Linked DNA regions of Homo sapiens: region 2 is linked to region 1. Evidence: promoter capture Hi-C in 16 types of primary human blood cells and fetal thymus (Javierre and others, 2016). All regions are on one chromosome and are shown on one strand. The core of a region is centred on a gene start or on the middle of the fragment in contact, and the rest is flanking DNA. Distances in the headings are between cores, read along the strand shown. Region 1 holds the start of CEBPA (CCAAT enhancer binding protein alpha). Region 2 overlaps CEBPG (CCAAT enhancer binding protein gamma).

Region 1 (5,973 bases), core at 1,516-4,015:
GGGGAAGTAAGTCACCCCCTTAGGGTAAGAGGGGCTCAGGATGGATGGAGAGCTCATGAAAGTCAGGATTGCCGCCAGGGAAAATGCTGTATTATTTACAAATGTGACCTGGCCCACAGACAACCTTGGAAGTAGCTTCTTTCTGGTTTTAAAAAGACACCGACATTGACTTTGATATGTTTATATTATAGATATAATACATAAAACATCTAGAGTGAGACTCTACGTTCTCCCCAAAAGAAGAGAACCAAGCCGTCCTTCCCTGCTCCCAGCCCCAGTGATGCGTTGGCGGGAGGCCACCTCCCTTCCCGACCAGGAGCCAGGGCCTCTGGGGGACAAGCCTTGTGGGCAGCCCAGGCCGGAGGGGCTGGGGAAAGCTGAGGGCAAAGGAGAACCCCCCTCACCTCATTGGTCCCCCAGGATCAAAAGTAATCCCAAAACCAAAAGGAAAGGGAGTCTCAGACCCTTCCCCCAGCTGCCGACGGAGAGTCTCATTTTGGCAAGTATCCGAGCAAAACCAAAACAAAACAAAAACCAAATAAAATGGTGGTTTAGCAGAGACGCGCACATTCACATTGCACAAGGCACTGCTGGGGCACAGAGGCCAGATACAAGTGTTGATATCGGCTGATAAAGCAAAATATTTGGAAAGCTTGTCATAACTCCGGTCCCTCTGGGATGGACTGATCGTGCTTCGTGTTCCTAGGCAATGCTGAAGGCATACAGTACAAACAAGGCTGAGGGTCCCAGTGGCCCTTCACCCCCCATGCCCGCCCCACAGCCAGATCTCTAGGTCTCCCTCTCCCACCAGGGGTATACATCCTCAGAGCTGACCCACGACCTAGCTTTCTGGTGTGACTCGGGGTGGGGGCTCCCACTGGTCACCTGGTGACCCCCATCGCAGTGAGTTCCGCCCCAAGGGGAAGCCCAGCCTATAGCAGGCTGGGGTGGGGTGTGTGCGGAGGGAGGTGGGAGAGGCGTGGAACTAGAGACCCTCCACCTTCATGTAGAACTAGGGGAACAACCTTAGGTTCCAAGCCCCAAGTCCCTATGTTTCCACCCCTTTCTAAGGACAGGCGTGGAGGAGCGGCTGGGGCTGGCGGGCTTGTCGGGATCTCAGCTCCCTGAGCCCTCCTCCTGCCACGGGCCTGCTCCCCTCCTTCTCTCATGGGGGTCTGCTGTAGCCTCGGGAAGGAGGCAGGAAACCTCCAAATAAAATGACAAGGCACGATTTGCTCCCCCTACTCAGTAGGCATTGGAGCGGTGAGTTTGCATTTCCAAGGCACAAGGTTATCCTAAATACTAGAGTTGCCGGGCTCCCAGCTCAGCCCCAAGAATTCTCCCCTCCTCGCAGGGAGAAGCCACCGCCTGGCCCCCTCATCTTAGACGCACCAAGTCCGGCGCAGAGGAAGGGAGGGGACACGCGGAGCAGGCCAGGCTTTCAGGAGGCACCGGAATCTCCTAGTCCTGGCTCGCACGGCTCGGGCAAGCCTCGAGATCCGGCGACCCCAAACCACTCCCTGGGTCCCCGCCGGAGGCTGGCCCAGGGCGGTCCCACAGCCGCGCGCCTCACGCGCAGTTGCCCATGGCCTTGACCAAGGAGCTCTCTGGCAGCTGGCGGAAGATGCCCCGCAGCGTGTCCAGTTCGCGGCTCAGCTGTTCCACCCGCTTGCGCAGGCGGTCATTGTCACTGGTCAGCTCCAGCACCTTCTGCTGCGTCTCCACGTTGCGCTGCTTGGCCTTGTCGCGGCTCTTGCGCACCGCGATGTTGTTGCGCTCGCGCCGCACCCGGTACTCGTTGCTGTTCTTGTCCACCGACTTCTTGGCCTTGCCCGCGCCGCTGCCGCCACTCGCGCGGAGGTCGGGGTGCGCGGCGCCCAGCCCCTTGAGCGCGCTGCCAGGGCCCGGCAGGCCGGCGGCACCGAGCGCGGGCGCGGGGTGCGGGCTGGGCACGGGCGTGGGCGGCGGCGTGGGGTGACCGGGCTGCAGGTGCATGGTGGTCTGGCCGCAGTGCGCGATCTGGAACTGCAGGTGCGGGGCGGCCAGGTGCGCGGGCGGCGGGTGCGGGTGCGGGTGCGAGGGCGGCGGCGGCGGCGGCGGCTGGTAAGGGAAGAGGCCGGCCAGCGCCAGCTGCTTGGCTTCATCCTCCTCGCGGGGCTCCTGCTTGATCACCAGCGGCCGCAGCGCCGGCGCCCCGACGCGCTCGTACAGGGGCTCCAGCCTGCCGTCCAGGTAGCCGGCGGCCGCGCAGCCGTAGCCGGGCGGGGGCCCGTGCGCTCCCCCGGGCATGACGGCGCCGCCGGGGCCCGCGGGCGCGCCCGGGTAGTCAAAGTCGCCGCCGCCGCCGCCGCCCGTGGGGCCCACGGCCGCCTTGGCCTTCTCCTGCTGCCGGCTGTGCTGGAACAGGTCGGCCAGGAACTCGTCGTTGAAGGCGGCCGGGTCGATGTAGGCGCTGATGTCGATGGACGTCTCGTGCTCGCAGATGCCGCCCAGCGGCTCCGGGGCGGCAGGTGGGGCGGGAGGCTGCGCGGGGCCCGCGCCCCGGGGAAAGCCGAAGGCGGCGCTGCTGGGCGCGTGCGGGGGGCTCTGCAGGTGGCTGCTCATCGGGGGCCGCGGCTCCGCCTCGTAGAAGTCGGCCGACTCCATGGGGGAGTTAGAGTTCTCCCGGCATGGCGAGCCTCGGCGGCCTCCAGCCTGCGCGGGGCGTCGCCGCCGCCCACCCGGAGACCCTGCTCGCCCGCGCCCGCGCACCTCCGGGTCGCGAATGGCCCGGCCCGCGCCGGCCCAGCTTTTATACCCGGCAGGCCGCGTCGCCCCCTAGAGTCCGAGGCGGCCTCTGTCCCCGGGCTGCGGCGGCGCGGCGCCTGCTGGGTCCTAGCGCGCGGCCGGCATGGGGCGGCGAACCAGCGCGGCACAGCGCCGCGCTCCCCAGGCAGGCCGCGGCGCAACGCCCACCGCCTCCAGCGCGCCCAGCAGAGCCGCGGCGCTCGCTCCAAGCTCCGCCCCCGGCCCGGCCGTCGCCCCCGCGCCCACGTGGTCGGTAGCGGGGGCCCCCTCCTCCTGCCTGCCCTAGGCGCCCGTATCCAGCCACGGCCGGGAGCCCAGGAGTATCCCGAGGCTGCACGGGGTAGGGGTGGGGGGCGGAGGGCGAGTCTTGGTCTTGAGCTGCTGGGGCGCGGATTCTCTTTCAAAGCCAGAACCAGGCCTGTCCCGGACCCGCGTCCCGGGGAGGCTGCAGCGCAGAGCAGCGGGGCTGGGGCCGGTGGGGGGCCGTTTGGGACGCGCGGAGAGGTCCTGAGCGCGGTGGCTCTGCGTCTCCTAGCTCTGATCTCCAGGCTACCCCTGTGATTCCGCGCAGAGGTACCTCTCGGAGGACGCCGGGGTCCCATGGGCGGCGCCGCGCAGGGCGCTAGGACCCCGCGGGGAGCGGAGGCGGCCTCGGCCCGGGAGCCTGGAGGACCTGGCCGGTCGATCCGCCCGGGCTGGAAAACTTTCTTTATAATTACTTCTCCAGGTCGGAGCGCGCGGCTTGCTAGGCGCGCGGGGCCGGCGCTGTTACCCGGCGTGGAGTCGCCGATTTTTTTTCCTGCGGGACCGCGGGGCCCCCCAGACTAGCGGAGCTGGACGCCGGGGCGAGCACGGGGAGGGGCGCACCGAGGGAGGAGACAAACTTAACTCTGGGGCCGGGATTCCGAGGCGGGGGCCGCAGCCCTCGAGGCCCGAAGCCACCGCTTCCTCCCCCGCCTCCCCATTCAGGTGGGCGCCAACGGCGGGAGCGAGGGTGTCCAGGCCGCCGGGCTGCCAGGTCCGAGCACGCACAGGGAGAACTCTGCCCAGTGGTTCGCCGGGCGCTGTAGTCCCCGGGATCCTAGGGACCGAGGCGGCCAGGCCCTGGGGCCCCTTGAGTGCGGCAGCTAATGCTCTCACCGCGGCGGGGGAAGGAGCTTGCCACCGAGACCCCCAGCCACGTGCGTCCCTCGCATTCTTTACCGGGGCCGGGGTGGCGGCTACGGACCGTCAGCTGGGCCCAGATGGAGTCTTGGGAGCCCTCAAGTGTCTCCTGTCCTTGCCCGCGCCGCCCCTCGCCACTGGCGCTGAGGCCTGACGCCGCCTGCGTCCCGGCTAGAGGCGCGCTTGCCTACAGGTGAGGGAAGACCCCCTTCACCGACAGTGGCCTTAGGCCTGGCAAGGCGCCACGACCCGCCCAGGAGCCCCGGAGGGGGCACAGCTAAAAACACCGCTGGAGAGCCCCGAGCTTCCACGACGATCGCAGTAAAGAAGCAGTTTCATCTGGGCAACGCACACTGCGCTTTAATCAAGTTCCTATTCAACATAGTCCCAGTGATTAATAGCCCAACTGCTTCGTTTTCGGTCCAGAGCTCATAAACAAGATATTTTTAGCTTGACGCTTTTGGACGGGAGGGAGTAAAAACCAGATACGTTAAATAAATATCCCGATGTGAGCCGGAGAGCTGCTTGCTGAGCCAAATGCAGGACCCATTCATATAGCATTCACCTGTGGAGGGAGACCTGGACGGAAATCAAAAAGCACCAAGAGCGATTTGCGTTTTTTTCTGCGGTGCTAAAACTAATGGCTTTTCCTACCTAGGAACAAAGAAACGCCACTGTACATGCACGGTTCCCGGCCTGTGGAGTTGTGGGAGGAAGGCGATGTCTGGCCTTTTTTGCACAGCTGCTGTTGCCTGCCCAGAGATCGGGAACTCTGCCCCGTAGGACTGGAAGAAACCTCAGTAATGGGAATAAGACTTTGTCCAATAGGGGGCTGATGAATGTGTGGGGGCGACAATGGCAAGGAGTGGGACTCCCGGCCCGGGGTTCGCCAACCCCAGGGGCCACAGGTCCTCCTACAATTGAACCAGAATTCACCCACCCGGGCCTGCCCTGTGCAGGGTGCCGAGAGCCCAGGGATGCATGAGAGGGTGGCTCCTGCCTCTGGGAACTGGGACAGTGGGAGAGACGGATAAGTTGTCACACAGAGGCTGCTGGGAGGAAGGAGGAGACAGAAGGAGTAGGGGATGGGACTTCATTCATTCATCAAATGCACACGAGGCACAAATGGGAATCAAGGGTGGATGTGCTGTGATGAAGAGAAGTCCTGCCCTGAACAAGGTGGCGCTGTGGAGGAGGCAGAGATCAGATTTGTCTGCGGAGGTGTTATGGACTGAACTGTGTCCCTGCCCCAAATTCCTATGTTGAAGGCCTAACCCCCATGTGACTGTATTTGGAGATAAGGCTTTTAGGAAGTCATTAAAGTGAGATGATGTCATATGGGTAGGGTCCTAATTTGATAGGATTGGTGGCCTTATCAGAAGAACAATGTCATGGGCATGCACAGAAAGGAGGTGGCCGTCTGCAAGCAGGGAAGAGGCCCCTCACCAGAACCTGAGGGTGCTGGCAGCTTGGCTTTGGCCTTGGGCATCCAGCCTCCAGAACCATGAGAAATAAATGTTTATGGTAGGTCTATGATGGCAGCCTGCTTGGACTGAACCGGCGGTGAGACAGGGCTTCATGCAGGAGCAGACCTTTGAGCTGGGCCTTGAAAGTTGAGCAGGAATTTGCTGGAAGGATAAGGGAGGAAGGCTCTTCTAGGAGGAGGGAATGGTAAGTGCAAAGGTGGAGAGCCTGCCAGTGCATGTGTTCTGGTAACAAAGAACGAGATGGTTGGCCGGCTGGAGAGTGGGGTGAGGGAGGGTGGGGCCTAGATAAGGCTGGATCCGCAGACAGGGCTGGGCTGATGGCCAAGGCCACTGCAGGTGAAGGGGGAACCCTTATCTCCCAGGCTTTTGACCTCCAGATTTTAGCAGGGGAGCTTCGTTGTCGGATTTGGGTTCCTGAGAATCTACTCTGGCCAAGACGGAGAGGGGGTGTTGACCAGATGGGAAAGGATGGAGACTTGTATTGCCCCAGTAATGAGCGGGCAGGGTAGATTAGAACAAGATGTCAGGACTTGGG
Region 2 (5,973 bases), core at 1,925-4,424, 78 kb after region 1:
TTTCTTACATTTTCACCAGTTTGTAGGTTCAGTGAATACTCTTTTCAGGCCAAAGGGCTTACCTTTAAAACCTCACCTACCACACACGTTCAGCCTAGTACCTTGCAAGATGAGTCAGGCAGAGGTGAAAAAGCCCTTCCCTGTTCCTGTATCTTTGGATACGGAAACAGGCGTGAACGTTGCTGAACGTGGACCCTGTAGTGAGTAAGAGCTGTTTGTTAGTGACTGAAGGTCGTGGTGTGTTGTCTGTAGGAAAGTGTCTTACTATTCCACATCCCTCATTTGCATGTGGGGAACAGACAGCCATGGAAGAAAAGAGATTTGCCCAAACTAAAATAGGGGGAGCCACAGCCAAGACAAGAACTGGCCTGGTCACTGGTCTCTACCGCTTTGGATCATTGCTATCTCTGAGCATGGACAAGTTGACTGTAGAGAGCTTTAAAGGCTAAAAATATAATTGGTATATTAAAAAAAAAGTAGAGAAATAAGGTGAACATGATTATGATTGTTAAGACAGTCTCAGGGGAGGTGTTAAACAAGTTCTTAAAAATTGAGTAAAGCACCTCTCACTTGACACCAAATGGATAATAATAATGTTAGGTGGCACTAAATGTGGCTCAGATTAATACTAAACAGCCACTTTTCTACTGGAAGAAAAATGAGGCAACCTAATGATGACCAAGGGAAATTGTGAACTGTCCATTACTGAAGATAGGCTTGGAGTGGATCGCCCTCATGGTTTGGAGGGATGCTTTTTGTCTTGCCTTAGTGTTGGCGTGAGAACAGATGACCTACTAGCTCAGAGTCGGCTGTGTGGCTTTGAAAACAATGGAAAGTAATGACACATGGACTTTTCAAAGCAAAGATGTTTTTTAAAAAGAGACCAATAAACAGTGTACAGAATTGCCTGGCTGAAGGTTTGGGTGTAGCTACTGGTGTTTGCTAACTGAGCTTTCCCTCATTGTGGGATCACTGCATAAATCTGACTCCAGATTTTTTCCACTGATGTGATTTTAGCAGTTTTGTGAAAAGAGAACAGGATAGTTTTATGTTCCTAACACTGCTTTCTAAATTTCTAAGAGTGCCCTGATTCCTTGGTGGACACCGTTCACTGAACTTAGTTTGTCTTGAAGTGGCCTCATGTTGATAGGATAGTCACACTTTTACACTTCTTGGGGCAGCTGTAGGGACTTAATTGGATTCAGAGTAATCCACATGTGACTGCTTTTCGAAACCGTGCCTTCATTTCTGCAGGCAGCAGCACAGGGATGCTTCAGAGCTGGTGCGTCCTCCGAGCTCACACGAGCTCATTTGGTAGCACGAAGTGGCCACAGGCACGGCAGCTGCTCAGCTCCTTTGTCCAGCCTGGGTCCCAGGACCCGCACTTCCTTGGATGCATCATGAGGGCTTCTGTTTCTTTCCTTGTGGTTTCAGGTTGAGTGTGTTTTGAGTTTTACTAATTATGTCAAGAAGAAAAAACACACTTTTTACAAGCTTGGTGGGATGGGGAGCAAATTGAGTGTCAGAGCTCCTAAATTCAAGAAACTGACTCAGTAAATTTGGTTAAACTGTGGAATTATCATTTGAGGTCATTAAAAAAATAAAGCAAAAAACTACCTTTTCAAAATATCCGATGAAGAGAGCTCTGGGAGAGAACTCAAGTCCTCGATGACTCCCTCTCTGCATATTAGAACATGGAACCCGCAGGGGTGATAGCATGAGAGCGCTGGAGACAGGGTGCGCAACCCCAGCCTTCTGTTTTGACTTGAACCAACAATGGAAACTTTTCCCCCCTTTCATTGCAGGTGTCTCTCCTACTACAGTCAGCTGCAGCTCCTCCCTGGGAGATTGTCAAGTGCTGTTAGTTCACATGCGCCACCTAATTAGTGGAAGTCTTTTGTTTTCCTCCCATTTTTGATAACAATCGCAGAGGGGCAGTGCCCTCAGGGATCCAGGTGGGCTGAGTTTCGCCTGATGGTGCTTCTGTGCTTACTTACCTTTCTAAGTGAAATGATTTAGACTTCAGAAACATTGGAACAGTTGGCAGTTGCTGTAGACTTTTCTCAGCAGAATCAATTAATGTTGGCCTGATGTTAGGTACGTACAAGTTTGATCTCATTTGATCCTGTCATTTCAAATATTTTAATGCAATTTATTTTTTAACTAGGTACATGTGAAGATTTTTTGGCAGCTTAGCGTGGAAACCATTGATCACCCTGCTCTCATTTCTACCTGTTCTGTGTTGGCAAGGGAGAGTGCCCAAATGAGCAAGATATCGCAGCAAAACAGCACTCCAGGGGTGAACGGAATTAGTGTTATCCATACCCAGGCACATGCCAGCGGCTTACAGCAGGTTCCTCAGCTGGTGCCTGCTGGCCCTGGGGGAGGAGGCAAAGCTGTGGCTCCCAGCAAGCAGAGCAAAAAGAGTTCGCCCATGGATCGAAACAGTGACGAGTATCGGCAACGCCGAGAGAGGAACAACATGGCTGTGAAAAAGAGCCGGTTGAAAAGCAAGCAGAAAGCACAAGACACACTGCAGAGAGTCAATCAGCTCAAAGAAGAGAATGAACGGTTGGAAGCAAAAATCAAATTGCTGACCAAGGAATTAAGTGTACTCAAAGATTTGTTTCTTGAGCATGCACACAACCTTGCAGACAACGTACAGTCCATTAGCACTGAAAATACGACAGCAGATGGCGACAATGCAGGACAGTAGACCTCACCCTTTCCAGACTTTAGAGCTTGTGGCTTGAATGTTAAAGGTGTGACCACCGACACCACTCATGTCAATGGCTGAAAGTTGTCCATTTCCATGACTCAAAGACCCATTGGAGGCTATTTTCTGGGATCAGCACTGAAGAGTTGATTAGCTAAAAATGTTAGCCTTGTAATTCGAATATCTGGTTTTAAATGATAGAGGTTTTTGTGGGAATCAAAATCCCCCAAATGTTAAGGTATATGGTAAAAAAAGAAATATCTGGGATCCCGATGTTCTTAATAAATCCTGACTTCCCAAGAAATGCTTCTTTTTTAAGTTGACAAAAGGAATGGGGAACTGGCAGGCCGCGCAGAAGGTTCTTGGTTTTAATGGATAGGCTGAATTGGATTAAGAAAAGTTGAATGCCACCTATGGTAATCTATTTGTGATTTTCTTCTAAATTATGTATTATAAATTCGTAGAGCTATAGAAAGCAATGAGTGTGTAATTTGGAGTGATTTTATATATGGCATAAACTTTGTTTTAACATAATTAGTACTGTTTTCCCCCAAAAGTACAAGTTTTTGAGTAGCAATGTCAGGTTAAGTAAAGAAACTTCATCACATCTTATAGGTAGTGTGTGGCCAATTGACTTAAAAAATACAAATAACATTTAGGAAGCAAATAGATTAAACACAAAAATAAAACTAAAGCATAGGAATTATGTTTTTGAGATACCTTTGGGCTTAGATTGGCATTGTTTTATTCTAAAAACCCAACTCAGTGGTGTAGAGAAACTTGTGTACCAAAATTTTAGTTTCTGCAGATGCTAGTGTTTTTTTGGATACAATTTTGACAACCAAGTTAGTAAACAAAATATCTTAACAGTTTGATGACACAAGCTACTGATGAGGGTTTGGAATATTAATTCAGAAGGTAGTTTCTCTTGTGTTCAAAATAGCTGCCATGGGGCTGTTACTTTTAAAGTCAAAATTTTCTTCTGAAGGCTCATTTTGGTATTTGATCTTAACCAAGTGATTATTAGAGAAATGTATCAACTCCATGCCATCTCCCAAAATAATTGTCTAAGAAAACTTGAAAGTGTAAGGTTTTAACCTTTAATTTATTTCTCTTAAATACATCTTTTGATATTGTTGTTGTGACATTTCTTTTTCTGGTTAGTGGGCTTTCCAGACTTTGTACCACTGCTTCTGTTTATTCATTTATATGCTTTTGTGTCCCATAAATTATTTCAGAAAATGCTGATAAAACTCAGGATATTGACATTTTTGTTGAGACTAAAAAATGGCAGTCGCTAAAGTAGGGACTCTAGAGTCTGGCTTACGTCAGTGTTGGTAGTTTAGATTGTCTTTGTCAACGTTTTTTCTTCTCTCTTTTGCTTTCTTTTCTTTCTCTTTTTTTCTTAGCACAGTTCTAGCTCAAATTTGTGTATTTTTTGTGTGCCTGGGCTGGAGATGAGAGACTGAGTCATAACTGATTTAAAAGTTTGTGTTATCAGGTATCTTATTTGAACATGGTCATTTTTGGCCACATTGCTGTTTCATACTAGGACTTGGGATGATGTAGCCAGAATAAAACTCAAGTTGCACCCTCCGGTTGGTGGAAGATTGCTGACCGTGCCGTTTCTGGGCAGGAGAAGACATCATGGTGTCCAGCAACTCAGCAAAGCCATTCTTAAGAGTCGTGAGGTCCTTCTGAATGTAAAACTGGAGCCCAGGAGAAGCTGTCCCAGGAGGGCTGTTAACTCCCTATAGAGCCAGGAGACAGGATAGGGGTTTCTAGGGTCCAACACCAGCTTACCTTGGAGTATGAATCTACCCATGAAGGATGAGAGATGTTTTGAAAAACTAGCCAGGACACACCCACAGGATCCTACTGGCTCCTTAGCAGCTGATTGGTGTTACATAATTAACTTAATTGGAGATGCATTAGGTCACTTGAATGTATAAGCAAGCACCTATGGTAGGCGCTACAGACATTTAAATCTCTTGGGAATTCGATGCTCCCATGGAATTTATACCAGTTATATGAATTGACTTAAGTATCTTGAAAAAGAAACTTTAGAGAAAGCATCAGGGGTGTGTACTCAGTATTTCAAATCAGAACACAAGATTGGAACTTTTGGAAAAATGGGTTCAAGCTTTCCTATTAGCCATGGAAATGCAAAGTTTAGCAGAAGCAAGCAATTAGGCAGAGAACAAAAATGTTAAGCATGGTGTTGTCTATCTTATTGAAGTGGTTGGAAATGAAAGCTTTTAATTTGATAGATTTATCAGTATAAAATTAGGGAAACCACGTGTGGGGAATGAATCAATTTAGAGCTTCGGGAATTGTGAGGTGACTTTTGTAACTTTTGTTCTGTGTGTGACCTGTGAACCACTAGGATGTGATCTGCCCTTGTGGGCAGGTCCAGCATAGTTAGGAGTTAGGCTTTAGCATAAATTTCTAGCTGCATCTGAGTCTCCTGGGATGGGTGCTCTTTGGCTGGTTTTGGCTGCGGATGGTGAGATCAGAGCAGCTCTTCCTGCTGCTGGCCCCTGCAATCAGTTGTTGGGATGCCAGTGCAGATCACTAAGTAGTAAGATTTTAATCAAACACGACCAGGTCCGAAATGCAGGTCATGAGTGTGAAATTCTCAAATTTACATAAAAAGTAGAAGTATAGACAGTTTAACATTTGGTATTAAAGGAGAGGAAATTGTAGCAGCTTTTCACGTTTCCCAGTCCCCATTAGAGGGCTTGAGACCTTGTACCTGAACAACCCATTTTGCACTCAGTGCTTTCTGATGCCTTAGGAGAATTGTTTTGTTTCACAAAAGCTGGGAAGGAAGAAGTCCATTCTGCAGCTGTTAGATCTGCCTCTCAGGAAAAAGTACTAACTTGTTCTTTTTGTTCCTGGCTTTCATCAGTTTGTGAGATTTCTCTATTTTTTTTAAATATAATTTTATTTCTTTCAACAAATATAAAATAAAAAACAACTTTGGAACAATGACTTGTCTTTCATCGTGGCTTTCTTTATATTAGATACCAAAAAGCAGTCCAGATGTTAAACAGCTGGGAAGCCCAGGCAGGTGCCTTGCTGTCTTTCCTGTTCCCACACTGGACGGCTGGGGGTAGGGGTGGGGAAAGTGGGGAGACAGGCAGAGGTATTTGTGTCCAAGTCTAGATCTCCCCGTTTGCCCTTAGTGGATAGGAAAATAGTTTTCTCTGAACATGGGATACATCTTTAGTTATATTTTTAGTCACTTGGTCTAA

Evidence for each region. The method cuts DNA at HindIII sites, captures the fragments that hold promoters and counts their contacts. A CHiCAGO score of 5 or more calls a contact.
Region 2: a contact is called between a fragment that was not itself captured here and the fragment with the promoter of CEBPA in region 1, in 5 of 17 cell types (M0 macrophages, M2 macrophages, M1 macrophages and 2 more). The highest score is 10.6, in M0 macrophages.

Annotation. Positions count from the first base shown.
Region 1 is chr19:33,299,769-33,305,741 of GRCh38, forward strand. It overlaps CEBPA (CCAAT enhancer binding protein alpha), which reads right to left and starts at 2,766. Exons shown (of 1, transcript NM_004364.5): 1 at 166-2,766. The coding sequence starts at 2,646. The coding sequence ends at 1,570. CEBPA-DT (CEBPA divergent transcript) reads left to right here and starts at 3,053. Exons shown (of 1, transcript NR_026887.2): 1 at 3,053-5,289. RefSeq lists silencers at 2,597-3,166, 3,247-3,506. The HindIII fragment of the contact is 12,770 bases long and covers 651-5,973 here.
Region 2 is chr19:33,376,977-33,382,949 of GRCh38, forward strand. CEBPG (CCAAT enhancer binding protein gamma) reads left to right here. Exons shown (of 2, transcript NM_001806.4): 2 at 2,168-5,710. The coding sequence starts at 2,264. The coding sequence ends at 2,716. Among named protein-coding and RNA genes, the nearest start is that of CEBPG, 6.3 kb to the left of the region's middle. RefSeq lists an enhancer at 827-1,520. The HindIII fragment of the contact is 3,365 bases long and covers 1,493-4,857 here.